Linked DNA regions of Homo sapiens: all the other regions are linked to region 1. Evidence: promoter capture Hi-C in 16 types of primary human blood cells and fetal thymus (Javierre and others, 2016). All regions are on one chromosome and are shown on one strand. The core of a region is centred on a gene start or on the middle of the fragment in contact, and the rest is flanking DNA. Distances in the headings are between cores, read along the strand shown. Region 1 holds the start of GLRX (glutaredoxin). Region 2 overlaps CAST (calpastatin). Region 3 overlaps LOC101929710 (a long non-coding RNA gene). Region 4 overlaps LOC101929710 (a long non-coding RNA gene). Region 5 overlaps CAST (calpastatin). Region 6 has its middle 9.2 kb from the start of CAST. Region 7 overlaps CAST (calpastatin).

The links. Contacts are between HindIII fragments. The CHiCAGO score rates a contact against its expected background, and 5 or more counts as called.
Region 2: a fragment that was not itself captured here is called in contact with the fragment with the promoter of GLRX in region 1 in 2 of 17 cell types (total CD8 T cells and naive CD8 T cells); the score reaches 5.5 in total CD8 T cells.
Region 3: a contact is called between a fragment that was not itself captured here and the fragment with the promoter of GLRX in region 1, in 7 of 17 cell types (fetal thymus, naive CD8 T cells, total CD4 T cells and 4 more). The highest score is 8.8, in fetal thymus.
Region 4: a fragment that was not itself captured here is called in contact with the fragment with the promoter of GLRX in region 1 in 3 of 17 cell types (monocytes, non-activated CD4 T cells and total CD4 T cells); the score reaches 5.7 in monocytes.
Region 5: a fragment that was not itself captured here is called in contact with the fragment with the promoter of GLRX in region 1 in 4 of 17 cell types (naive CD8 T cells, non-activated CD4 T cells, erythroblasts and 1 more); the score reaches 10.1 in naive CD8 T cells.
Region 6: a fragment that was not itself captured here is called in contact with the fragment with the promoter of GLRX in region 1 in 6 of 17 cell types (total CD8 T cells, monocytes, M2 macrophages and 3 more); the score reaches 7.3 in total CD8 T cells.
Region 7: a contact is called between a fragment that was not itself captured here and the fragment with the promoter of GLRX in region 1, in 1 of 17 cell types (non-activated CD4 T cells). The highest score is 6.0, in non-activated CD4 T cells.

Annotation. Positions count from the first base shown.
Region 1 is chr5:95,821,384-95,824,707 of GRCh38, forward strand. GLRX (glutaredoxin) reads right to left here and starts at 1,343. Exons shown (of 3, transcript NM_001118890.2): 1 at 1,073-1,343. The coding sequence starts at 1,279. RefSeq lists enhancers at 1,771-1,860, 2,091-2,591. The HindIII fragment of the contact is 7,969 bases long and covers 1-3,324 here.
Region 2 is chr5:96,684,226-96,687,682 of GRCh38, forward strand. All of the region lies in intron 2 of CAST (calpastatin), which reads left to right. Among named protein-coding and RNA genes, the nearest start is that of CAST, 24 kb to the left of the region's middle. The HindIII fragment of the contact is 3,675 bases long and covers 1-3,421 here.
Region 3 is chr5:96,333,877-96,337,460 of GRCh38, forward strand. The region is part of intron 3 of LOC101929710 (a long non-coding RNA gene); the gene reads left to right. All of the region lies in intron 1 of LOC107986365 (a long non-coding RNA gene), which reads left to right. It also overlaps a transcript of CAST not described here. Among named protein-coding and RNA genes, the nearest start is that of PCSK1, 98 kb to the right of the region's middle. The HindIII fragment of the contact is 536 bases long and covers 1,245-1,780 here.
Region 4 is chr5:96,612,370-96,615,941 of GRCh38, forward strand. All of the region lies in intron 4 of LOC101929710 (a long non-coding RNA gene), which reads left to right. It also overlaps a transcript of CAST not described here. Among named protein-coding and RNA genes, the nearest start is that of CAST, 48 kb to the right of the region's middle. The HindIII fragment of the contact is 1,613 bases long and covers 836-2,448 here.
Region 5 is chr5:96,701,361-96,704,929 of GRCh38, forward strand. All of the region lies in intron 3 of CAST (calpastatin), which reads left to right. Among named protein-coding and RNA genes, the nearest start is that of CAST, 41 kb to the left of the region's middle. RefSeq lists a silencer at 1,316-1,445 and an enhancer at 1,685-2,184. The HindIII fragment of the contact is 5,929 bases long and covers 1-3,569 here.
Region 6 is chr5:96,651,421-96,655,016 of GRCh38, forward strand. It overlaps a transcript of CAST not described here. Among named protein-coding and RNA genes, the nearest start is that of CAST, 9.2 kb to the right of the region's middle. The HindIII fragment of the contact is 3,089 bases long and covers 106-3,194 here.
Region 7 is chr5:96,667,890-96,671,376 of GRCh38, forward strand. The region is part of intron 1 of CAST (calpastatin); the gene reads left to right. Among named protein-coding and RNA genes, the nearest start is that of CAST, 7.3 kb to the left of the region's middle. The HindIII fragment of the contact is 767 bases long and covers 1,318-2,084 here.

The sequences.
Region 1 (3,324 bases), core at 93-2,592:
TACTCCAGGACCTCAGCACACAGCAGTAGGATAACACACTAAGCCCCCTTTCTGCACCAAAATGCTGACTTCTTATTAGAGAGAAGGGGAGAGAAACAACCTCCAATGCTTTATACTCAGAACCCAGAGACAACCTTGTAAGTCAAACTAAAACTGAAATAGGATATGTGCTTGGCCTAACACTGTGCTGTAGAATTCGTGCATCGTAAAAGAGAACTTAGCTGAGCTGGTGGGACATTTCTCATCCCACCTCACAGCAGAACTGATACAGGTGATGTGGCTGGCATCCCTCCTGAAGCCCAGGACGCAAAGCCAAGGATGCTGAAGAGAGGGAAGTCTTTCGGATGGAGGAGAGCAATTTTTAGAGGGTCCCACAGTCTATTCGTAGCAAATGGGACTCTGAGGTCACCTAATCTGGTCTTGCAGCTGGGATCTTTGAGGACTACTGGGGTGGTGACTTGCCCAGGATCACACAGCCAGCCATTATAAGAGCCAGGCCAGAACTCCAGGCTATGATTCCCTACAATGTGGGGCCTGGAAACATCCATAATTAATTTAGAACAAGGGGCAGATAACGGTACATTAGATTTTTCCAGTGGGAGGAATTAGATAAGGAAGAATGAGCAAATTAGAAAAAGAAAGCCTAGAGAAAAGAATGAAGAACATGAATCTCATGTTAAATAACAAACACATCACACCCGGCCCTCCACCCCAGCTTCCACCTCCAGCCCTGCCAACTGAAAACTGTCATTTCCTGGCAGTGCTTAAAACAAAGACTCTAGATAATTCCCCAGGGACTCACCGGCAAGCTGCTGGTCCCACTTACCCTGCCGCACAGCAGACATCAGCTGTACTCCCTCTTCTGCCCCGTGAAGACCTTTGGCTGCAGTGCCGCCGCTCATTCAAGTGACCGAGATCCTCTCTAAGGCGCCCTCCCCCACACCCCCCGCCCCGCACAGCCCTCTGGACGCCTTGAAGTACGGAGCCGCAGCCTTATCCTAAAGAAAGGCACAGCTCTGACAAGAAAAGGCAATCCGGGAGCCTTTCCCTAGCCGTTTAAAATGAAACTCACCGTTCTTGCTCCCGTGAGCTGTTGCAAATAATCTTGAATCTCGTTAGTGTGGTTGGTGGCTGTGATATCGACAAATTCCAGAAGCCCTTGTTTGATGGGCAATTGACTGAGGATCTCTTGGGCCCTCCTGCAGTACGGGCAGGTGGGCTTGATGAACACAACCACCTTCCCAGGCTGGATTTTGCAGTTCACAAACTCTTGAGCCATGCCGATGGGCTGCGGTCTCCCCGGGAAGAATCCTCAGTTGCAGGTATTGCTTGGGGTATTGAGCCCCGACCCAGCCAGTTGGCTCCTATTTAATAAGGAACCTCCCTGGAGGCGGAGTTTGCCTGGTAGCTTGCTCGAGTTTTAAAGGGACAGCTTCGAAGACATTTCCATCTGGTATACTTCACTAGTTAGCAATGCCCAGGAATGCAATACTTGCTATTTAATCATTGGTAGCTATGAAAGACACTCTGGGTATCTTTGTTGTCCTTGGACATTTGGGGAGTGCCTGCCCATTGGCAATGATCAGAGTTTAGTCACCTCTGGGGAAGCATAAAGTGCTTACTCACAAAGGGGCTGAGGAGGCAGTGACTTCTTAGAGCAAATTCTTGTTTTCCCTCTAGGAGATACAGTTGTATTTTAAAATGCAAACAGAATCACTTAAGAAACAGAACACTTGGAAATCTCTTTAGAAGAAGTGAAATTGAAACTGTGACTTTGCACTCCTCATGAAGGTTGCTCTCACAGCATTTTGCTTGGACTGTATGGTGGGTGTTTGTTGTTGTGATCTTTTTAATGGAATTCATTCTCAGTATTTAAAAATCTGGAGGTCTCACAAAACAATTCGGACTTAAAACTTCTCTCTGAAAAGTCAGGTCGGGCAATACAGAGCTTGCACCTTTTAGTGGAAGCTGCTGGGGCTGACAGCTGTTGCCCCCTTTGTATAGGGCAAGTAGTGGCTTTGGTTTGCCACAGGTCCCAACGACAGGCCCATGCCTGAGACACCGGCTTCACCCCATAACCATTTGAGTTGGTAACCCTTGAACAGCAGTTTAATATGGAGGCAAATTCCAACACAATCCTTGATACAAAACTACAGATGAAATGAGAATCTTTTTTTCTGGTTGAGCCTATGTTTGTGACCCTCTGCTTTTAACTGTTTGTGAGGGGAAGTAGTGTTGTAACTCAGACACCACATTCACTTCAAGTGTTATAAGACACGGGTTGTAACAGTAGGAAATCTTTCGCTCTTCCCCAGGGTGCCCATTCTCCTTATCCCGCAAAGCAAAGTCCTCTACTCCTGGGTCTAGTTCCGGCCCCCTCTAGTGTATGGTAGCTTAAATAAACAAATCAAGGAAAAACTATGTCCTTTAAACGTGAATCATCCTTTCCCCAGGAAGTTTTATGGTGAAACCAGAGTATCTTCAAAGAGGCGGGGCCAAGGCCAGAGCTGGACACCACGACTGCCACGTAAGAGGAATCCCAAGCATACTGCGATCAAGGGAAGGGAAGAAAATCCACTCCCAGAAGCAGCTTTTTACTGTGACTCTCATCGTTACTAGAATTAAAATGGCAAAATGAGAAAGCCAGATTCTGAGTCACGGAGGGGGAGCTAAGTGACAGCTCTGTCCAGAGAAAAGGATGTGGCAGGGCTGGGAGGCCCCTCACGTGGTCAGGGCTCCGGACTTCCCACTTCCCACTTCCCTCCAAAGTAGGCTCTGCCACAGAGTCTGAGCCTCCTCTCTTTTTTCATTCTTTTACCTCAGAACCCTGTGGCCAGGCTCCTTCCAGAGGCCCCTGCCAGGAGGTCCAGGGTCTGTTTCAGGGCCCTCAGGCTGTTGCCTTAAGTTCCCTCAGCCTGAGGTTTATCCACACGACTTGCACCTGCTACTCACTCAGAGCCTTTCTCTTCTCCGGTCTGTTGTTGGCTCCTCCCTTCCTGGTGCCTCAGCCTGCCACTGTGTTCAAGTTAAAAGCCACCACCACCACCACCACTCCCCATTTCCTGCTTTCCTGCCTCTGCCCTTTCATGAAATTTACTGTCTGTACCTTTCTCACCTCCATTCTCTCATTTTGTTGTTATCTGACCTTGTCAACCATTCTGCTGAATTGTTGGCAGACACTAATCATGGCCTCTATGTCACCAAATGACCATTTAGCTAGGTATCCTGACCTTTTGCAAATTAGTCACCTGCCCCAAGAGGCTGGGATCCAGGGAGACTATTGTCTGCCTCTCACTCAGTCCCGGGGACTGCCTGGTGTCTGAA
Region 2 (3,457 bases), core at 334-2,833, 860 kb after region 1:
ATATGTAGTGTCTAGAACAGTGCCTGGGACATATGAGGTGCTCTATAAATCTTACCTCCTGTTATTGTTATTATTATTATTGGTGTTACTTTATTATTATTAGCTCAGTAAAGAGAACTTGTTTGGCAATAAAGGTGAGTCTCGTATTGATGTCTACCTATGGGATGGGGCAGGGCTCAAATTCTTTGGTTGATTATATATTGCAGCACCTTCCCATTAAAAAATGAGGGAAGTTTGATAGTTTATTAACTTTAGTAGCACTTTTGTTGTAAAACCAACTACATGCAACATGCAGAAACATACGCCAATAGCTAGAACTAAAGACCTCTGCATCACTATCTTTTTTTTTTTTTTTGAGATAGAGTCTCACTTTGTTGCCCAGGCTGGAGTGCAGTGGTGCAATCTTGGCTCACTGCAAACTCTGCCTCCTGGGTTCAAGCGATTCTCCTGCCTTAGCCTCCCAAGTAGCTGGGACTACAGGTGTATGCCACCACGCCCAAATAACTTTTTTAAAAAATATTTTTAGTAGAGACAGGGTTTCGCCATGTTGCCCAGGCTAGTCTCGAACTCCTGACCTCAGGTGATCTGCCCACCTTGGACTCCCAAAGTGCTGGGATTACAGACATGAGCCACCATGCCAGACCGTATGCATCACTATTCAATGAGCTGTTTTATCAGAAGCTAAGGATGTACTTTTTAAAAAGAATATGAAAATAATGTGCCTTTAAATTAAGAATCTGTGATATACAAAATGTTGTATCATTGGATAGGGAATGGTATTAAAAAAACAACTGAACACTTTGCCTCTATGAGAGAATATATAAATATATATATATAAATATATCAACATTATATCATACAATAATAATATACCCTTCATTATCTTATTTTAGATTTATGAGCTGAATTACCTAAGATCTTAGGTCCCACCAAATTGTCTCTGAAGAGATTATATTTTATTGCTTGTGGAATCAGAGTAAAATACTAACAAAATATTGACGGAATTGAATGGATGTTCAGTTCACTTCAGCACAGATCATAAGCACTAGAAACCTCATGGACAGATGGATTAAATATTATTCCAGAAATAACATGTTTAAAGTTAACTTTTTTTATTCTTCAGACTTTCTTAGCTTCTCAAAAATAATGGGATGACTGGTTCAAAAGGGACAATAACCTGAAATCATACCCATAGCAAGATATCTGTCTTATCTAAGGACTGAATATGTATGATTCTTATCGTAATGTCAATATTATTTTTCCACATAACAAAATACATAATGGCTTGTACATTATAAAAATAGTTCATTTGTGAGAGCAAAATCTCATGGCAAATTTACATCATAGTCTTTTATTTTCAAGTATCATTATTACAGAATGCTTAGTAAATGTGTAGAGCATTGTATTAGTACCAAAACAAATTTAAAACTCTCTGTTTCTCATTTTTCAGGATATGGCATGAGATAATGCAGTGATTATCAACTCTTTTTGTGCCTAAGAATCACCTGGGGATGGTATGAGAAATTCAGACTCCTAGGCTCCATCTCCAGAGACTGATTTAGATCTAAGGTGGGCCCAAGGAATCAGTATTTTTGCCAATCACTCCAGGTGATTCTTCTCTTATGCCAGTGGTCTTTTGAGCACATTTTGAGTAACACTGAAATAATTCTTGTGGAGTGCATAGCATGGTGCGTAGCACACATAAACATTGATTTCTTTATTTCTTTTTTCTTTCATTTTTTTTTCTTTTTCAAATGACCTCTCCTTTTCCCCCCTGACCAACTCACTCTGCCATATTGTGGGAATACAGTAGAGCACACTAAGAGAGCTGCAGTTTCAGAGTCAGTGGACCTTGTGGGAGGCTTTGGTTGGAGGGATCAGTTACTGATACTATTTCTTCCCACTTCTCCCAGGACCTTGTCCTTTAGATCTTTTGATTATTCCTTTTTTTTTTCACTCTTTATTTCATGACTCCTCTTTAGACTACATATTAGCTCAATCTTCATCATAAACTGTTTTAAAGCAATTCCTTTGAAACTGCTCAAGCTCCAATTCCATCTCTGCCTCTAACCCTCACTACCAAAATTCCTGGTTAAAATTATTGAAGAAAAGAGTGTAGAGAGAGAAGAGAGAGAAACTAAAATCAAGTGTTGATAAATGCCTACATGTAGAAAGTGGGAAGGATAACTCAAGTCAAAGAAGCAGCAAGCAAAGAGGTAGAGGAAGCTGGGTGCTCCCTGTCATCAGTGTGGGGGGTGCAGGAAGAAGTGGAGGGTCAGTAGGGCTGAAATGCTGATATTTCCAGAGGGATGGGGGCTGAGGCAAGGTCCTGATTGGAGACTGGGATAGTATCAGTTCTCTTCCAAGCTGTTTTTGTGGAGTAATAGAAGGTTTCCATTGTACTGTGATTATGATTGAGAGGGTGCTGAGTATGTGGAGATTCTGCATGGTAGATTCTTCTTCCAATGTATGTAGATTTATGTAAAGAACAGCAGATAAAGCAATGAAAAATGAAGTCAGTGTTTACTTACACAAAAAGAGATAAGTTCTGTAAGGAAAAAAATATTCATGTTACTTGTTAAACAATAGTAAGGCAGACTTCATTCCAGACCATTGCTATAGGTGTAGGGACCACTGCAAGGGAATTTTGCAGTAAGAGGGGAGAAATTATAGGGGTGGCTGGTTTTTCCAAGAGTTGACTCCATAGCCAACCTTAATTTTAACAATCTAATTCCATGTACATCATTCTCAAATATTGCATTCTATTATAGTTATTCAAGGCCTTGGTAGTATTTAGCTCCAAATATAATGAAGAAAAGTGGGGATTTTTAGCTAGGAGCAGGGCCAGGGATCGTTGGATGGAAAATTAAAAGGAAACATCAGGGATAAGGCGGATTCTGGGAAAAGTGACCTATAGGATTCTTGCTTAAGGCCAGCGGGTGATCAGATCTCACCTGGCGGATGGTGGAGGATGAGGGGACTTGATCGGATAGCAAGAATGGAGGATTCTGACTAAAGTAGCCTGTCAGTATTCTTGCTATGAGTGGGTAGTGCAGAGATGAACGTGGAAGTCCAACAATGAGGCCTAATTGAAAAAGAGCTCAGAGGAGCCTGATTAGAATTTAGTCAAGGAGAGAATCTTTGTCAGTGTGACTGAGACACTTCACATGTTATAGATGTCTTGGATTGTTTGGTACTGTTCTCTGCCAGTTGTTTATTGATAAATGAATTCATTTATTAATTAAGAAACATCAAATAAGAAAGATGTTGTTTGGAAAGAACTAACAAGTGAATTCTAAAAATTTGTTTGTCTTAATCATTACGATTCTAGACCTCCTAGTTTGTTATTCACATTAAAGTTGGTATTTTTGGGCTCTCTCTTTTGCACATCAAGCCTCTCATTCCTAAATGATCTAATTCAAGCTTAAGGACCAGAATTTTTGGACTTTAGTACCAT
Region 3 (3,584 bases), core at 263-2,762, 510 kb after region 1:
ACATGCAAAAGGAGTACAGTGCAGCTTCAACTGGAGCAAGCAGCAGGTCCCTTCCAACATCAACATTCTTTGAGTTCGTAAGTCCAAGACTCTATATTTTAAAAATATTTTTATGGGTCTCAGACCCTCACTTCAACACCCATTTCATATGCTCCTCACTATTAGCAAACTTGCTACCTACTTTGTTCAGAAAATTGAGTTGTATTAGGGCTGAAGTTTCTTTATAATACTCAGGTGCAAGAAATGTCATATAGCACAGTTTTGTTGTTGTTCATTGTTAATTCAAGTTTGAAATTCTCCCTCCAGAGTGTGGCAAGGGTCAGTAGCAGTCATTATTGGAGGTTCTGCTCTCCAGAGGCAGTCAGGCATCCTTGGAGGATTGCTCAGTGCAGAAAATTCTAGGAGAGACCTCTTTTCTCTAGCCTATCACAGTCACTGCTTAGTTGTTTATTGGCTGGGCCAGAAAGGTCCATTTAAAGGCTGGAGGTTCTATTCCTAAGCCCACCCACCCACCTCCACCCCTAGTGCAACTTGGGTGAGGTGGCCTGGTTCTCACTACTGGGAAACTCAGGACCCTGCACATCTATAAGCCACACCATCGGAGGTTCTGCCATCTTCAGGGAACTGTATTGGAAGGGCCTGGTTTTCAGCCTGCTGCACAACTTTCTGCCACTGGCCCCTTTCTCTGTTCCAGAAAAGTCACCCCCACGGTCCTGTCACTCACTTCCTTCAACTACAATGCCACTTCCTCAGGTATGAATATAGCCACACAGTAGGCATAGTAGTGACTATTTGCAGAATCCCAATTAAATAACCACTTCAAACAAAAGCCTAGGATGGAGCTGCTACCTCAGTGTCCCAGAAACTCGTTTTTCACCTAGAAGCACAAAAGTGATCCTTACCCTTGGAGGCAAGATCAGGAGCGCACAATACAAGGGCTGACTTGTTCATCCACTGGAGACTCTGCTACAGTATAAATGCAATATCAAAAATGATATCTAAATTCATTATCCTGCTATAGAGGCAAATGAGCATGAGCGCCTTCCATTTCTTGCCTCACCCATGCCTAGGAACAGAGCTCCACTCACACCCTGCATTATCGTCCTCCAATTTCAGAAGATGCATTGTCTCCTTTTGTTCAAGGCCGACCCCAGTTACACATGCCAAGACCAGGTTCCACAGCCATCCTCCCTCTTGAAACATCCACCTTTCCTCTTGCAGGGGTATGTCCTCTTCAGACTACAAGCTTACTCATCTCCTTCCCATTCATTAAAAAAGAAGTCTACCTTTGACCCCCATGTCCTCTTAGTGATGTCCTATCTCTTCTTCTATTTCATCCAAACATCTTTAAAGAGTTACCTATACTCAGTGTGACCACTTCATGTGCCATTCACTCTGCATCCCCTGCAATCTGGCTTCTGCTTTTGGTAAGGCCACCCATATTGTAGCTGGAAAATTCAGTGGACATTTTCCAATCTTTGTCTCACTGTATGTTTCTGGGGCATTTGGCCATGTTGCTTGTGTGCACCACTCACTCTCTATGATAGTCATATTATATTCTCTCAGCTTGCCTCATTTGTTTCTGTTCTTTCCCAACCATGGTCTCCTCTCCCTCCATCTACCACCCACATGCTGGGGTTACCTACCTTTCTGTTTTAGCCTACCGCTCTTCTCATTACTGATACTCTTCTTGGGTGGATTTTTCTACACTCAGGATTTCAGCTACCATCTGTATAGTAATGACTGTCTAGTTCAATCTCCATCTCCAATTTCTCCCCCAAGCTTTAGGCTCACCAATTCCATCACCTGCTAGGCAGCTTTTCTTGGGCACTCTTCAGACATTTCGGATTCAATTGCTCAAAAGCTACATGTATCACTTCCCTCCAACCTAAACCTCTATTTGTTCTGTTACCTTCTCTTTACCCAGTGACAAAAGTTATAAAATGTCTGCCTTGACTTTTTTCTTCTCCTCACTCCCTTTATCCAACTGATCATTACATCCTGATGTTTTCCCCTCCTATGCATTTCTCAAACCCATCCTCTCAACTCCACTCCTACCACCACTACCCTATCTCAAATGCACCTTCTTTTAACTGGACCAATATAACAGTCTCTCAATTGGCTTCCTGGTTTCTAGACCTGGCCCACTCCATTCTCTCTCCAGAGCTACCTGAATGATTCATATACAAAACAGTAATCTGACCCAGTCCTTCTCTTGCTAAAGTCATTCTGAATCTACACAAGGAAATTCAACCTCCTTTCCTGGGGCTGTCCCTTGTCTATCTCTTAAACCTTAGCTCCTACCACCCGCTGCCCCCTATTTTGACTCCAACTCTCAACCGGCAGTAGTTCTCTGCAAGTCTTCTGTTCTCTTTCTGTTCTTTACTTGCACATTTACCAATAAATATGTTTTACTCCAGTGTATTAGGTTAGTATTATAAGGGAAGTTTCAAGTTCATTTCATATTAAACATTAGAGCCTTCATGCTTAGGGAGAGAGGGAAAAAGAGAAAAAACCCATAGCTAAATACATAGTTAAGTCGCGTTCTTCTCCAACGCAGCCAAAAATTGGACTGGGCCTGAGATATTTGTGTGCCCTGTTTGATTGAAAGCTGTTAGAAAGTATGCCAAACATTTTAGATTTTTCGCTCCCAGAGTTCTTGTAAACCCGGCAGAACTTGTCTGTTATGAAGAGTGGACTGCCCTCTAGAGGTTCCCATTGGAAGGAGCACATCAAACCCACAGTGTTAAGGCATTCTGCAGTTTCTTGTGAGGTTTTGCTGTAGACATTTACTATTACTGTTCTTTGTCCCCAAAATGCTTTTCCAGATGTCTAATTCTGAGTCACACATTTTTAATTTACTTTGGGAATAGAGATTTGGGGTAAAGCATGTGATGGACCTCAAAACACTCAATTTGGAGTCAGGAGATGTGACTTTTAGTCCCGGTTCTTCCTTTAATATCTGAGGACTTAGATTTCATGTCTGTTAATCAAGTAGTAGAAGATCACACTTCAAAACTGTGAATCACCAGAAAGTATGTTTTAGGAGTAAAACTGGGAAGAGTTTCATTAATTCAGTAAATATTTAATATGGAAGACCCTGGGGTAAGAGCTGTTTTGCAGAAGCTAGGAGTTTACGTTTGATCTTTACAATGTTAGATGAAACATATTTGAAAAAAAGACACTTGGAAAACATTTGGGCTTGCAATTTAAATGGATGAATTTAACCCTGATATCATAGAACCCTGAAAGCGAAACTGAGCTAAAACAAAGTAAAACTTACTCTGATTCCAAGGGTCTCTTCTGACATGAGAGTGGAAATGAATCACACAACCACACACACACACCCATAGACACCCTAATATGCCATTAAGCTCTGACCCAAACCCCTTTTAGCCTGGTTTCCCCTTTTCTATTTTCAATCAAGAGAGAAAAAAAAGGAAGTCTTTCATTTAATGGTAAGAACCAACTATGGTCTCTGTATGCTCATATAATACTAAAGAATTATAGGTAAAATTATATTTTATGTACTTTATTATGGTACTATGTCAATTGACATTGAACTTCATAGTACACTGAAGAAA
Region 4 (3,572 bases), core at 392-2,891, 790 kb after region 1:
GCTAAACATTGCATGCATGTGGGCATAAGATGGGAACAATAACACTAAGGACTCCAAAACAGGGAGGGAGGAAAGAGAGCAAGAGTTGAAAAACTACTTACTGGGTACTATGTTCACTCTCTGGGTGTTGGGTTCAATAGAAGCCCAAACCTCAGCATTTCACAATATATCCACGTAACAAACCTGCATACATACCCGCTGAATCTAAAATTTGAAGAAAATAAAACAAAAACAGAGAAATCTGCACTTGTACCGGTTTAAAGAAATAAATACGTTTTAATCTAATCAAATATATCAAATCTTTTACTTTATAATTTTGGTTTACTGGATTTTGTTAATATGCTCTTTCTTACACTGAGATTATGCAAAAATTCTTCTGCATTTTCCTCAAACTTATTTTAGTTTTGCTTTAGATGTTTAGATCTCTTATCAACGGGGTAACAATTTATCTTTGTGTATGATATAAACAAGAAGTCTAAATAAATATACACACATATATACATACATACACACATATATACATGTGTAAATACACAGTACATGTAATTTTTCTCTGTGGGTAACCAATTAATGTTTATCAGTTAGCCCATGCATGTTCTATTGATTTGTAATGCCACTGCTTCATGTATCCAATTTCCAAATATGTATGAGTCTCTTTCTGAACTCTCTATTCTGTTCCACTGGCAAGTCATCCATCACTGTGCCAATAGCACACTGCCTGAACTACTATAGTTTTATAATAAGTCTTGATATCTGGTAGAGTGACCCTCTCCATCTTCTTCTCTTTCAGAATTTTCTATTCCTAGCTGTTTTCTTCCATTCAAATTTTGAAATAAGCTTGTCAAGTTCAGCAATAAAAATCCAGTTGAGGTTATAATTTGAATTGCATTAGAATAGATGGATTTGAAGATGAATGACAGTTTTCTTCTTATCCTTGAACATGGTTTCATCTCTCCTTTCATTTAAGTATTCTCGAAGGTCTTTCAATGAAATTTCATACTTTTTTCATATTTGCACATCCTTTGTTAGATTTAATACTAGGTACTTCAGATTTTGTAATACTACTATTTGTGCTATCTGTATTTTCTGTTTAAGTCTTCACAACCCTATGAGTTAGATATTTTCACGTTCATTTTCTAGCTAAGGAAACTAAGGTCCAGAAAGATTAAGTAACTCACCATGTTATCAGTAGTCAGTGATGGGGACGGGATGCAAAACAAGTTCTATCTGACCCCAAATTCTGTGTTCTTAACCTCCAATCCATACTCTGTCTTCTGATGATTGTCTTTAAAGCATTTTTAAATGAAACAACTTAAGGGTATTCAAAGGCACAAAACAACAACAACAATAGTAACTACCTATCTCCCTGGAGAAAACGTTAAGTACCTCAAACTTTATTCTCTATACAAATAACCTGGGACTTCTATTACAATGTACATCTTAATCCTGTAGGTCTGGGGTGGAGCCTGCAAATATTTAGGTATTCCCAAATGTCTTTCAATGAAATTTTATACTTTTTAAAATAATTGCACATCTTTTGTTAGATTTAATACTGGGTGCCTTATACTGTTTTTTAAATTGTTGTTCATTTATCTGCATTGTGAGGCTGGGTATCCTCACAGCCCTATGAGTTAGATGTTTTATGTCTATTTTGTAATGAAGGAATCTAAGGTATAAAGTAACTAACAATATATCATCAGCAGTAAGTGACCAGGTAATACAAATGCTGCCGGTCCAAGGAACCCCTTCCAGAACCACCACTAACTCTACAGCATTTTCTGGTGAGGAACCCTTTAATTAACATGATTAAAGGTGAGAACTCCACCAGATGGCAGCAGAAGCTCATCATTTTGTCTCAAATGATTCCATTTCCCTCTGGATGGAGTGTTAGCTGTTGGCAAATGCCTGACTCGTTAGGTTATTGCGGTGAAGTGAATCAGAATCAGGGCCTTTCACTCCTGATGCTGTGTGCAATCTTACCTACTACAGCGCCTCAGTGTTGACAAGGGATTTTCAGCAAAAGCATCCAGCCGGGACATGCCCACGAGCTTCTCCCAAAAACCTTATGGCAGGAGGCTTATAAATGAGAATGAAAACTGTTTTCCATGGGTTGCTTTTTCATCACAGTGAGTTCAATTTAGGTACTTAACCAAGAAAAGGAAACATGATTTGAAATGTTTGGCAGGGGATTAGAAGAGGAAATGATTCATTCACTGTGGGGAACGGGAAGCTATTCAGGCAGATAAACCTGAAACAGAGTCCAAAGATTCAGAGGAAATCCAAGAATAATGCCAGGGACCCACCTCCATCCAAAGCCTAGGCCCAGCCTCTCCCCAGGGGTGCCAGATTACCCCTCTTCCTCAGTGCTTTTTTTCTTTTTAAAAACTGAATATATATATATAGTTGAATTATGAAAAGGATCCATCATCTTGTACTGCTCCCACCCTAAGCTTGGTAAAATGAGGCACCTGTCACTAAGAAGGCTAATGAGTTCATTATATTCTCTTGCCTTTTAGTTACTTAAAAGCAATAATTTGGGCACTGGGGAGGCCCTCAGCGCTGCCTTGAGTGAGCTGTGAGTAGGCTTTAGCCTAGTATAGGCAGCCCCCAAATTTCAATAGTTCAACTTAAGATTTTTGAACTTTACGATGGTGCAGAAATCATATGCATTCAGTAGAAGCTGTACTTGGAGTACCCATACAGCAATTCAATTCTGTTTTTCAATTTCAGTACAATATTCAATACATTACATGAGATATTCAGCACTTTATTATAAAACAGGCTTTGTGTTAGATGATTTGCCCAACCACAGGCTATTGTAATTGTTGGAGCATATTTAAGGTAAGCTAGGCTAAACTATGATGTTCAGCAGCTTTGGTGTATTAAGTGCATTTTTGACTTACAATATTTTCTATTTCCAGTAAGTTTATCCCATCGTAAGCCAAAGAGCAGCTGTACAGGATGGCATTTGGCAGTCCCTAGGCAGGTCTCACTTCCTCCTCTCCCCTTACTCTGCCATAACCATCTCTCCCATTGACTCAGTCAGCACTGTCTGTGCTGCTGCACAGGGCTGTCTCCCAGAGTGTGTTCACATAGTCCAGTCTATCAGATTGCTTTGCTAATGTGCCAATGGCAACAGGGAGAATGAAACAGACAAGGATTCTGTGGGCTGTCCTTGGCTGAGACGCACATTGAGGGAGAATTCAACCTGCTCCACCACGCCAGGCCCCAGGGAAGGAGGCCAGGGAGCCTAAGAGGGGTCAGGTGGAGGTGTATGGTAGTGAGTAGGGAATCAGGAGATTATCAGCCGTCCTATTATTTAATGGTTCTTGCTTCAAGCATTTGCTGGGAAAGAGGGGTCCCGAGAACAGGTCCATGCCACTGAGACTCAGTGACTTATACTAGGGCAAGTGTAAATGTTCTGGTATTAGGGTTCTCTTGACAACCAGAACTAATAGGGTAAATATATATTAGAGTTTATTAAGGAGTATTAACTCACATGGTCACAAGGTCCTACAATCGGCCATCTGCAAGCTGAGGAGCAAGGAAGCCAGTCTGAGTCCCAAAACTGA
Region 5 (3,569 bases), core at 905-3,404, 880 kb after region 1:
TGGCCCAAATTAGTCACCCTGTGCTGTTTTTGTCACAGGAGAAATTAATGTCAGTGAAACCTAGATGAGCTTTTAGTCTATTTTTAAAAAGGAATGACAATACTAATGATCAACAACAACAACAAAAAGGGATATATAAGCTATATATCAAGAAGAATTCTAAGTCCGGGTGCATGGCTCATGCCTGTAATCCCAGCACTTTGGGAGGCTGAGGTGGGTGGATCACTTCAGGTCAGGAGTTCGAGACCAGCCTGGCCAACATGGTGAAACCCTGTCTCTACTAAAAATACAAAAATTAGCTAGGTGTGGTGGTGCATGCCTGTAATCGCAGCTACTCGGGAAGCTGAGGCAGGAGTATTGCTTGAACCTGGGAGGTGGAGGTTGCAGTGAGCTGAGATCACGTGACTGCACTCCAGCCTGGGCCACATAGCGAGAATCCCACCTCAAAAAAAAAAAAAAATTATAAGGACAGGGTCTTCTGCTCTGGAAATGTTAGAATCTTAAAGTTGGAAGGGCTCTTATTTCACTAGATTTTTGACAGAAATAAAAGACAAAAAAAATAAGGTAGCTGTGAGGAGTACCTTGAAAGGTACATCAGAGGGCCCTAACTGCCTTGGCTGCCTGGTGGGGTACAAAGCTGTATGGATGAGTTCACCTTTTTCATGCCACTGGCCATCATTTGTCATGACTCGACACAGCACTGTCCAACCTGTCCTGAGGTCTGTGTTCCTCAAACAGTGACCAACACTACCTCCTTCACTCACACCCCAAGTTCAGGGTTCAGAGCCTTTAATGTGGTTGGTGTACGGCTTTTCATTTATTTTAAAATTTTTTATAATTATTTTCTCTAACTCTTATCATTCAATATTTATTAGTTGGCCTTCTATATGAAAGAGTGGCTTAACCCCTCTATTTATTCATTCATTTATTTACAGCAGTATAGACTCATGAATTTATATTGTATTCAATAGCTTCAAATCTATTCTAATTTTGAAGTTTGTAATATACTATAATATAAAGTAATCGGGTAGAATTCTTACTGTTAAACTACTCTTTAAAGAAATCCATTACACAGTTTTAACTGCATTTGCAAATCCCTGGTTGTAGTCATTACTAATCCACTTTATAGTTTCAAAAGAGGTCTTCGGGGGAGCATATTTGCGAAGTGCACCCACCGTCGTTGCCTTATTCTGGTAGTCACAGGGTGACAGCCGAGGGAGCGGTAACCTGTAATCAGCCGGCGGTGCGCAGCCCACACAGCACGTGGTCCGCATCACAGGCTGCGTTATTGAGTGAGCCAGTCTCCAGATGCCAGGCGCATGACGAGTCCACGGAGCGGGACCTCCCTCCCCACGCATCCCGGGCTCCCGGGGCGGGGCCGCCGGGCAGGGGGGCGGGGAGCATCCTGCGTCGCCTTCCCGGGACCGCCCCGCCCCGTCGCACTCAGAGAGCTGGGCTGGAGCTCCAAGCGGAAACCGCGGGAGCCGAGCCCAGCTAGGAATGCAGACCTCCTGAAAACCAAGCCGAGGACTGCGGGGTCCGGTGTCCACGCAGAGTGAGTACTGTCTTCCGCCGCTTTGCTCCAGGCCGCGCGTGCTCCCGGGTCTAGGGCCTGTGCCCCCGGCTACCTGCCCTGCGTGTCCGGGGCCTGGTCCCTGCAGCGGACTCCCCAGGCTCGGGACGTGCGCTTTTCCTACTATCGCGACCCTGGCGATACCGTGCGTTCTGAGTTTAACTGTGTTTCTTGGCGACTCCTCCTCCTTGTCGGTAACACTGTTACTGCCCCTTCCGCCGGGAAATGTATCTGGTGACCGGACGCGTAGGGTTACAAAACAAGGGATTTGTGTGGCCCGGTACAAGTGGCCCGAGACAAGTGGCCCGAGACAAGTGGCCCAAAAGAAGGAAAGCAGCAGCTATGTCAGTTTGGTTTGGCACCTTTATCTCTAGGGTTGGAGATAGATCTCCTCCTCCCCAGCCGTGCCGCCACCCTGTGATGACCTCCGTTTTAGAGCGTGAGCTCACTCTGACCTTTCTGCGTACCTGATACATGCTGGGTGTGGCGTGGCAAGTGTTGTAACCTGTTTCGGTTCCATTTCCTTTACACAACCTGAGACGGTTGTAGAATAACATCACTGAGGGTTACTTTGTGTCTATCTTTTAAGAATACAAAGTGTTTTCACAGAGATTTAACTTTCTCTTCTGTATGGTTAGGGACCCGGCATTCTCCACTTACACACAGGCAGGGGGAAGTTCTTTATTCCCATTGTACAGCTTCAGAAAATGAGGCAGAGAGTTTAGACAGCTTCCCTAAGGATCGGGACTTTGGGGCCTCTCTAGTTTTCTAGGAAACCACCTATGCATCAGAATGACAGAAATGCTTAATCAGCAGCTCTGGAAAGTTCCTGCTGTTTCACATGTTTTTCAGAGGAAAAACCTCTGCATTGCAGGGAAGCTCAACAAGGAGTGGCATCTACTGTTCAAAAGGGGAAAGTCTATTTCCTAATCAGCACTAGAGTTTATATTAATATAGATTGCTTCTTTCTGATGAATGTATTCGACTTTTGTGCACTGATTTTTCAGTATCTAAAAGGAATATTGAGTTGTTGGGAATATGCTGGGGAGGGTGTGCTGCTTGGGTTCTAGGAGGCAGTATAGGATTAAAATGAAGTAGTGAAATTTAGCAAAATCTTGCTGAACAAGGAAAGGCCACACCTGTAGACTGATGGAGAAGGAATAAGCCACCTATAGCAATGAGGCTGACTAGGGATCCCGTGTGTGTGCAGCAAGGACTCCTGGTGTCTATTACGAATCAGCATGCTTTGTAGACTGTGAAACAGTGTTTATGAAGCAGCACATTCAAGTATAAATATTGGCTGTGGTTCAGTTCAGATGCTTTGAAAGAAGAGTCCGAATGCCAGAGAGTAGTTGATTATATAGAATTAGTGGGGAGTTTTGGTTCCTTGATTATTCTCTGGCAGAATTGACTAAGTATAACATCTGTACTGCAATGAAAACATAAAAGCTAGTACGTAAAGTAACAGTTTGAAAGAATGAAACCAGAAAGAAAAAGAAAGCATTTTCTTTTCATTTGAATAACTTCTGAAAATCAGCTGAGTATTTATGTTTCTATTCATTGTTTATAATCACAGTTAACTTTAAGTGATCACTACTTCTTAGGTGGAAACATTTACTTTTTCTCAAAATATGAACTGTCTTAATTAGTCCTATTCAAATAAAAACTCCATAACCCATATTCTTCTATGTTCATATATATCTTTGTATCTCCTCTTTCATTATACCTTATAATTCCCTCAATTTGGAGATCATACGAATCTGGGATATCTGTTTTAGCATTGGTGTGTCTAACCTCATAAGAACATATCGCATAGTTTTTCTGATACATAGAATTAGCAATCTGCTTACTAGAAAATTACAGGAGGTCTTCATGAACATTGCATTTAATTTTTTCTCTATGGACGCTCTTGACTTAAAAATGTCATCTTAATGTTTCTCAAAAGGCATAGTCTTGGCATTTTGGGTGACAATTCTGAATTAGATAGAGCTCTTTG
Region 6 (3,596 bases), core at 400-2,899, 830 kb after region 1:
TCTGCTTTCTCTGCTGTCTTTTCAGAAATCCTACTGGATAGATGTTGTATGTCTTGAGTTGATATCTAATTTTCTTATCCTGTCTCTACTGTCCTTTCCTTTGTAAGCTTCGCATCTCACCTGAGGTTGGGAAGGGATAGTTGCCTTGATGTGTGAAATGGAAGAAAGAGACTGAGGTTCTAACTGCAATCTGTAAAGATTTTCACCCATCTCTCTCTTTTCAGCCCATGCCCCACCTCCAAACCCTGAGCTTTCAAACTGGCATTAGACCTTGCTCACTTCTGTCCGTATCTCCCCAGCAGACTCTCAGGCTGTAGCTTTCTCCATTCTGTAAAATTTGGTTTCTATTACACCTTTTACAAAAATGTGTTGATATATCATGTTTGTAATTGTCTCCTGTTCTGTGCCATTTATCCTGTAGGTTTAGAGCTTTCCTATTTGTTTTAATTTCATTTACTCTCAGTGAAGTTTCAGGGGAGAGAAGGAATAAAGACACACATATTTAATCTGTGTGTTAAATCAGAATCTCCCTGTGACATGTTTTTAAAAGTAACAGCCCTGCAAGGTATATATTAGTAGGCTCATGTTACAAAGATACTGAGTCTCAGAGAGCTTCGGTAAACTTCCTAAGCACTTACTGCTAAGGACCACAACTGGGATTCAAATCCATATGCAATTGAATCCAAAACCCCTGCTTTTCACCAGAGCAGATCTTCCTGCAGTGGCCACTAGGGCAGCGTCAGAGGACCTCCCAGGGATGGTTCTAAGGAGATGGTTCATAGCAAACGAGGTCCAGACCAACCCTTAGGTATCTTCCAACCTAGGTTGTAATAATTGGCTTTGCTTTGTTTGATAATTACAAATGATTTCCTACATGGAGTCTATAATTAGAATACTCATGGTATAAAAATAACACACGTTAGGGAAAAATGTAGAATTGATGGGTCATGGGGATTTTTTTAAACAAAGATAATTGGTGTAATACCATTTTAGCCTAAGTACTAAATAGTGCTCAATTAAAACTCTGGAGGAGGAACATAAACAGAAAAACTAGCTGAGTAACCCACAGCACCTAATTATACATTTAGCCACTCATCCAATCAGCTCACAGCACACCTACAGAGAGGAAACCCTATGTTTAGGTGACTCCTCTGTGAAGCCTCCACTTAAATGCTCTGTGTCACAGAGCCTCCTGACACACAGCATTTGGCCTAACCCACTCAGGGAGTAAGATATGTGCCATATGTTCATTTTAAGATTTCCCTTGGATGTGTTATTTGCACATGGGATCATCTTGCCTATATTAAAATGACACAATGCAAAATATAAGATGTGATATCTGATGTATCCCAGGAAAAACAGAGCTCATGACAGAAATTGGTGGTCACAGGGACTCCAACAGTCAGAGGCTGACTACTGCATACTTCAGAAGGGGCACAGACTGCACGGGAACCATAATCCCTTTCTGCAAGACAACAGGTTTGGGAGAGGTAGCTAGGCACCAACTGAGACCACACCCTCTTACCCACCTGCTGTGAGGAACTGGTTTGGCTTGAGCACAGTGCTTGAAGGATGTCTCCTAATCCTTGAGACCCATCAGGGTCCCTGTTGAGCCTGAGTTTCCCACAGCCATTATCTCCCAAATTAATGGCAGTTATTCCATAGTTTAGTGATTGCCTTCATATTTTCTCACAGGCTCCAGGGACACATCTACTCTGTGCCACAGTTATCCTATATCCTCAGGGTGGGATCAGACCTCACAGGGAGTCTCTGTGTCTGAGTAGGCAAACCAGTCCAGATTCATTGCCTTGGGGCAGGGCTAGACCCCACCTGGTATTGAAGTTATGCCAGACATGTGTTTTTAATCACATTTTTTTCCTCAAAGTCAACTGCATAATAAATTCATAATAAATAAATGCTGTCTCATCTAGAGAGTTCTGGGAGACCTAGAAAAACAGATGATTAAAAGAGAACAATTGAGTTGTTGCTCCAGAAAGGGCAACAATTTGGAGAGGAAGTGTAGTTAGTAGACCTGGCTTTGGAATCTGGCTCTGCCACCTCCCAGCTGTGGATGAAGTCTTACCTTCTTAAAACACCCATCTCCTTCTCTGTAAAATAAGGGTACAAATAAAACCTCGTAACATTGCTGTGAAGGTTTATAAAATGCATATAAAGTCCTAGATTAGAGTAAGCAAAAGGTAAATCATAGATGAAATAAAAATTATTTAAAAGCTCTTTTCTTTTTCTTCTTTTCTCTCAGATCTTTATCTTGTATCTTAACCCAATATTTAGAAGACGAAGGAATATTTCATTTTGGCTTCTTTAGAAAGAAAAGAAAAAAGAATTTGGGGGCCAAAATAATTATCTTTAAGTATTTGAAAGACTGAAAAGCAAAATAAATAAATAAATAACTATGAGTCTTATTCTGTATTTTTCTAGTGGTAGTTTTAGTCTAATATTTGTTGTTTCCCCTTAAAAATACTACTTAATTTCCCCTTTTTCATTCTTGTTGCTTAACTATCCTTTTTTCCTTTTTCTTCTTCTTCCCCTCTCTCTTTTCTCTTCCCTTGTATCTCTCCTTTCTCCTTATCGTTTTCTTTTCTTTTCTTTTTTTTTTTTTTTGAGACGGAGTCTCACTCTGTTGCCCAGCTGGAGTGCAGTGGTGCGATCTCAGCTCACTGCAACCTGCGCCTCCCGGATTCAAGGAATTATCCTGCCTCAGCCTCCCAAGTAGCTGGGATTACAGGTGTGCACCACCATGCCTGGCTAAATTTTTTTGTATTTTTAGTAGAGACAGGATTTCACCATATTGGCCAAGCTGGTCTCAAACTCCTGACCTTTTGATTTGTCTGCCTCAGCCTCCCAAAGTGCTGGGATTACAGATGTGAGCCACCGCACCCGGCCCATTTTCTTTTTTCAATTCTTTTTCTTACCTTTCTTTCACTTTCACTACTTTCCTCATTTATGCTTCCTATATCTTTTTCTTAAGAAAACCAAACTGTGGAGTACATAATGAAAGCAAAAAAACCTCACGTGTAGTGTGCATAGCTACTGTATATTACCAGTTTCAAAAACAAAGCACTCTCTTTTTCTCCGATGTTATATTTTAATCTGAGAAGTAATATTTGCAGAGTTTTCAGTGGTTTGAAGGAAGTAAAATATAACACAAATATCTTCTAGACATACACAGCATAAGCTTTTACTTGACTACACTCAGATGTTATCAAGAGTAAGTTCATTAATAACTTGCTGTTATATCAAAATTGGAAAATGAAAAGTAAGAAAAAACAAAAAAGGGGCATCTGGATTTTCAAGAATATTGCAATACATTTGGAAGTGGAAGCTGAGCACACAAGAAGAGAACAAATAAAGACCATGTATATTTGTGTTAAATTTGGGGAGGGCTCACATGATAAAAGACCTTCATAGCTAGCTCAAAAGTTAAGACTTTCCTTTTATTATTTTTATTGTATACTATGTGTTTATTGCAAGAACCATTAAGAAATATAAGAAACATTAAGAAAACATAAACTGGGAAAATAAAACCAAAATAGAATTACCCAAATGCTCACATCTAGTTAATTTCTTGATGTATA
Region 7 (3,487 bases), core at 451-2,950, 850 kb after region 1:
CTGTAATTCCAGCTACTCAGGAGGCTGAGGCAGGAGAATGGCGTGAACCCGCGAGGCGGAGCTTGCAGTAAGCCGAGATTGCACCACTGCACTCCAGCCCGGGCGACAGAGCAAGACTCCGTCTCAATAAATAAATGAATAAATAAATAAATAAGTATAATGACCTCTTCATATACCAATCATTGGTGTCAATAATTGTCAACATTGTCCTAATCTTGTTTTATCTGTTAACCGTCACAGCTACCAGCACAGACACGCGTGCACACACACACACACACACACACCCTTTCAACATGTTTTAAAGCATGGGAATTGCAAATATAAGTCATCCTTGTAACCAAATTGCTGTAGTTTGTTGGGAAAATGAATTCTTTAACCCCCATGTAGTTTATCTCCTTGAGTGTTATACGAAGATGTGAGAATAATATATAATACACAGTCATGAGATAGACAAAGTACTAAACAAAAACTTAATCAGATGAACCTGATAAGGTTCCTTTGTACTTTAGGGAAAGTAAAATACTAAATTCTTCTGTTCTAATGTTTACAGCCTTAGAAAATGAAACCCTCAAACCTTAACTCACTGGCTTCTAATTCACCACAGTCAGATTGCCAGGGAAAAAGAAGGGAGTGAAATAATTTTAATTGTGTTCTTAAAATGAACAAGGCAATGAACCAGGTGCCTCACTAATGTCAACTCTTTTCATAAATTTGCCAGCCCCTGGGATAGATACCATTAGCCCTATTTTACAAAAAGAAACTGAAAAATTAAATTATCTGCCCAAGGTCACGGTCATATAGCCTTACAAATCTAGGCTGTTTCTGCCCTATCAGAGTTTATTGCAGTCAACTAACAGACAGAAATGACTCTGAGTATTTAAAACAAAGGGAGTGTAACATAGGGAATTGGTTACCCAGGTAAAAAAAAAAAAGGCTGGGAAGCCGTCAGGGGAGGGTGAGGCAACCCAGAGATTAGAAATTGCAGGAAGCTGCTACCATCCCTAGTCTAGAGGGACACAGGGAGGACAAGGGTCACCTTGCAGAAGCTGGAACCACAGCCAACCCATCCTGCAGGAGGTGCTACTGGAGGAGGGGGTGGGGCAAAGGGAATACCACCCACCCACCACCTCTAGTCTCCTGGCAGCGCCTGCTGTTGGCTAAACCCAACTTGAGGCCATCCATCAAGAGAATTGCAGCCAGCAAAGTTCCACTACAATTTGAACACAGCAGAAGTGGAACAAGGAATCCACCTGAAGGCAGACAGTTCTAGGATCTGCACCCAGGGAGACTGTTCTGAAGCAAAACCAGCTTTACAGAAGCTTTGGTCCATCTGCTTGTTTGCTGAATAATTTTGCTTTAGCAAGTAGAATACATATACAAATATATTTTAAGGCATTTTTGTGGGAAATACCAATTTGCACATTGTCTCTTAATTTTTCAAGCTACCTTCTTGGCCTCTTTCTCTTTTGTCTAGTTTACTGATCTGAAAAGAGCAAAATTACTTCTCAGGGAATGTTTATAGGTTTGTGGGAACATGGTCATTCAATCAAGAATTCTTTGTTATGGTCCTACCACACATCTAGGAAAAAAAGGATATAACTTACCCTGTGATTAGGAAGGCAAGATGTAAGTTTATAAAGTAATCAGTAAGCAAGAGAGTGTACAATAAAGTGCTAATTTGTTTGATTTACTGAGAAAATAGAGATTAATGTGCAAATATGAAAATATGATACTCCATTAATAGGGCAAAGCTCAGAATTTGACAGGAAACACTGGTGTAGACATAGGGCACTGTGCTGCTTCACTGACCAATCAGAGTTTACCCAGGAGGAGCCCAGAGCCACCCCAGTCTGCCTGACCCTGGGAACCTCCCCATGGGTGCCGACTCAGTGGGATGGTTTGAGGAGCGGAAACTTCCGCTTCCTATCATGGTGCCCATAAATCTTCCCCCAAAACCAGTGGTTCTCAATCCTGGCTGTATATTGGAATCATCTGGGGAACTTTAGAAAAATTTATCCATGGCAAGGCCCCATTCTATTCAAACTAAATCTAAATCCCTGTGCCCTGACACAAATGTTTCTAAAAGCTTCCCAGGTGCTTGTGACAGGCACTGAAGGATGGGACCCACTGCTAACCTGAAGTCTTTGTGATCCTCAGGAGCCCCTGGTAGAAGCCTTTCTCAGTGTGTGTGATGGTAGAGAGCTGAGTTCCATGAGCTCGGAGAGTCCAGAGGGTATCAAGATAACCTTTTATTGCTCCATGATTTTTCCACAGCTGTCCCTGGACATGCAAATACTATCTCGATGAAATTGTCGCCACATTGAAGAAGGAAAATGTTTAAGTTTTCAAATAAATCACCCACCAAGACATATGATACAATATGTTTTAGTATAGTCACAGGGTGGTCACAACCATCAGCACAATTTTACTTTAGAATGTTTTCCTTTCCTCCTAAAAGAAGCCTCATACTTTAAAAAATAATAATAATAAAGCAAAGGCATTTCAGAAGCACACTAGCATTTCATACTCTTTTCACAGCTGGACTTAATGCTGGCAAGGGCTGCTTTTCTGTCTTCTTGCTTCTTTTATATGTGAAGAAGTTTCTTTGATTTTTTTTTCTTTTTTTTGTGATGGAGTTTTGCTCGTTACTCAGGCTGGAGTGCAATGGCACGATCTCAGCTCGCTGCAACCTCCACCTCCTGGGTTCAAGTAATTCTCCTGCCTCAGCCTCCGGAGTAGCTGGGACTACAGGTGTGCACCACCATGCCCAGCTAATTTTTGTATTTTTAGTAGAGACAGGGTTTTACCATATTGGCCAGGCTGGTCTCGAACTCCTGATCTCCTGATCTGCCCACCTCGGCCTCCCAAAGTGTTGGGATTACAGGCGTGAGCCACTGTGCCCGGCCTAGTTTCTTTGATTTTTATCTTGTTTTGTGTGACATGTTCCCTTGGCTGTCTATGTATCTGTGTGTATCTGGGTAACAACAGGGCAGGTGCCCAAATGTGGCAGAGTTGAACCTTGCCCTGGCAGAAGCCCTTAGCTGGGTGAGAGCTCAGGCTCTGAGCCTTATTGCACTTAGCTCTTATTGATTTTTTTCAGATTTATGGGTTTGCTATGGCAGATTTTAAACGTATAGAGGCTGTCACCTAGAATGAGGACAAACGACAGTTGTAGTTGCCAACTATGTGATAAAGGGGGTGAAAACAGTTTGGAAAATTATTCCTTCTTGAGTTAAGATAGCAAAGCCCTTGATCTGATTTTTTTCTCTGGCTCTGAGCTTCTGGAGCACATACCACCTTCATCTTAGCCCCCATCTAGTCTCCTGTCTTCTATGGCCTTGTCCTTCCAGTGAAATTCTTTACTATGGCATCCTGTCCTGCTCTTCCTGTCTTTGGCCTCCTCTCTAGCTGCCAATACAGGACAGTATTGTGTGTTCAGTTCATTTATAAAACAAGTTTTAGAATAGGAAGTTTTCATGTTTTGTTA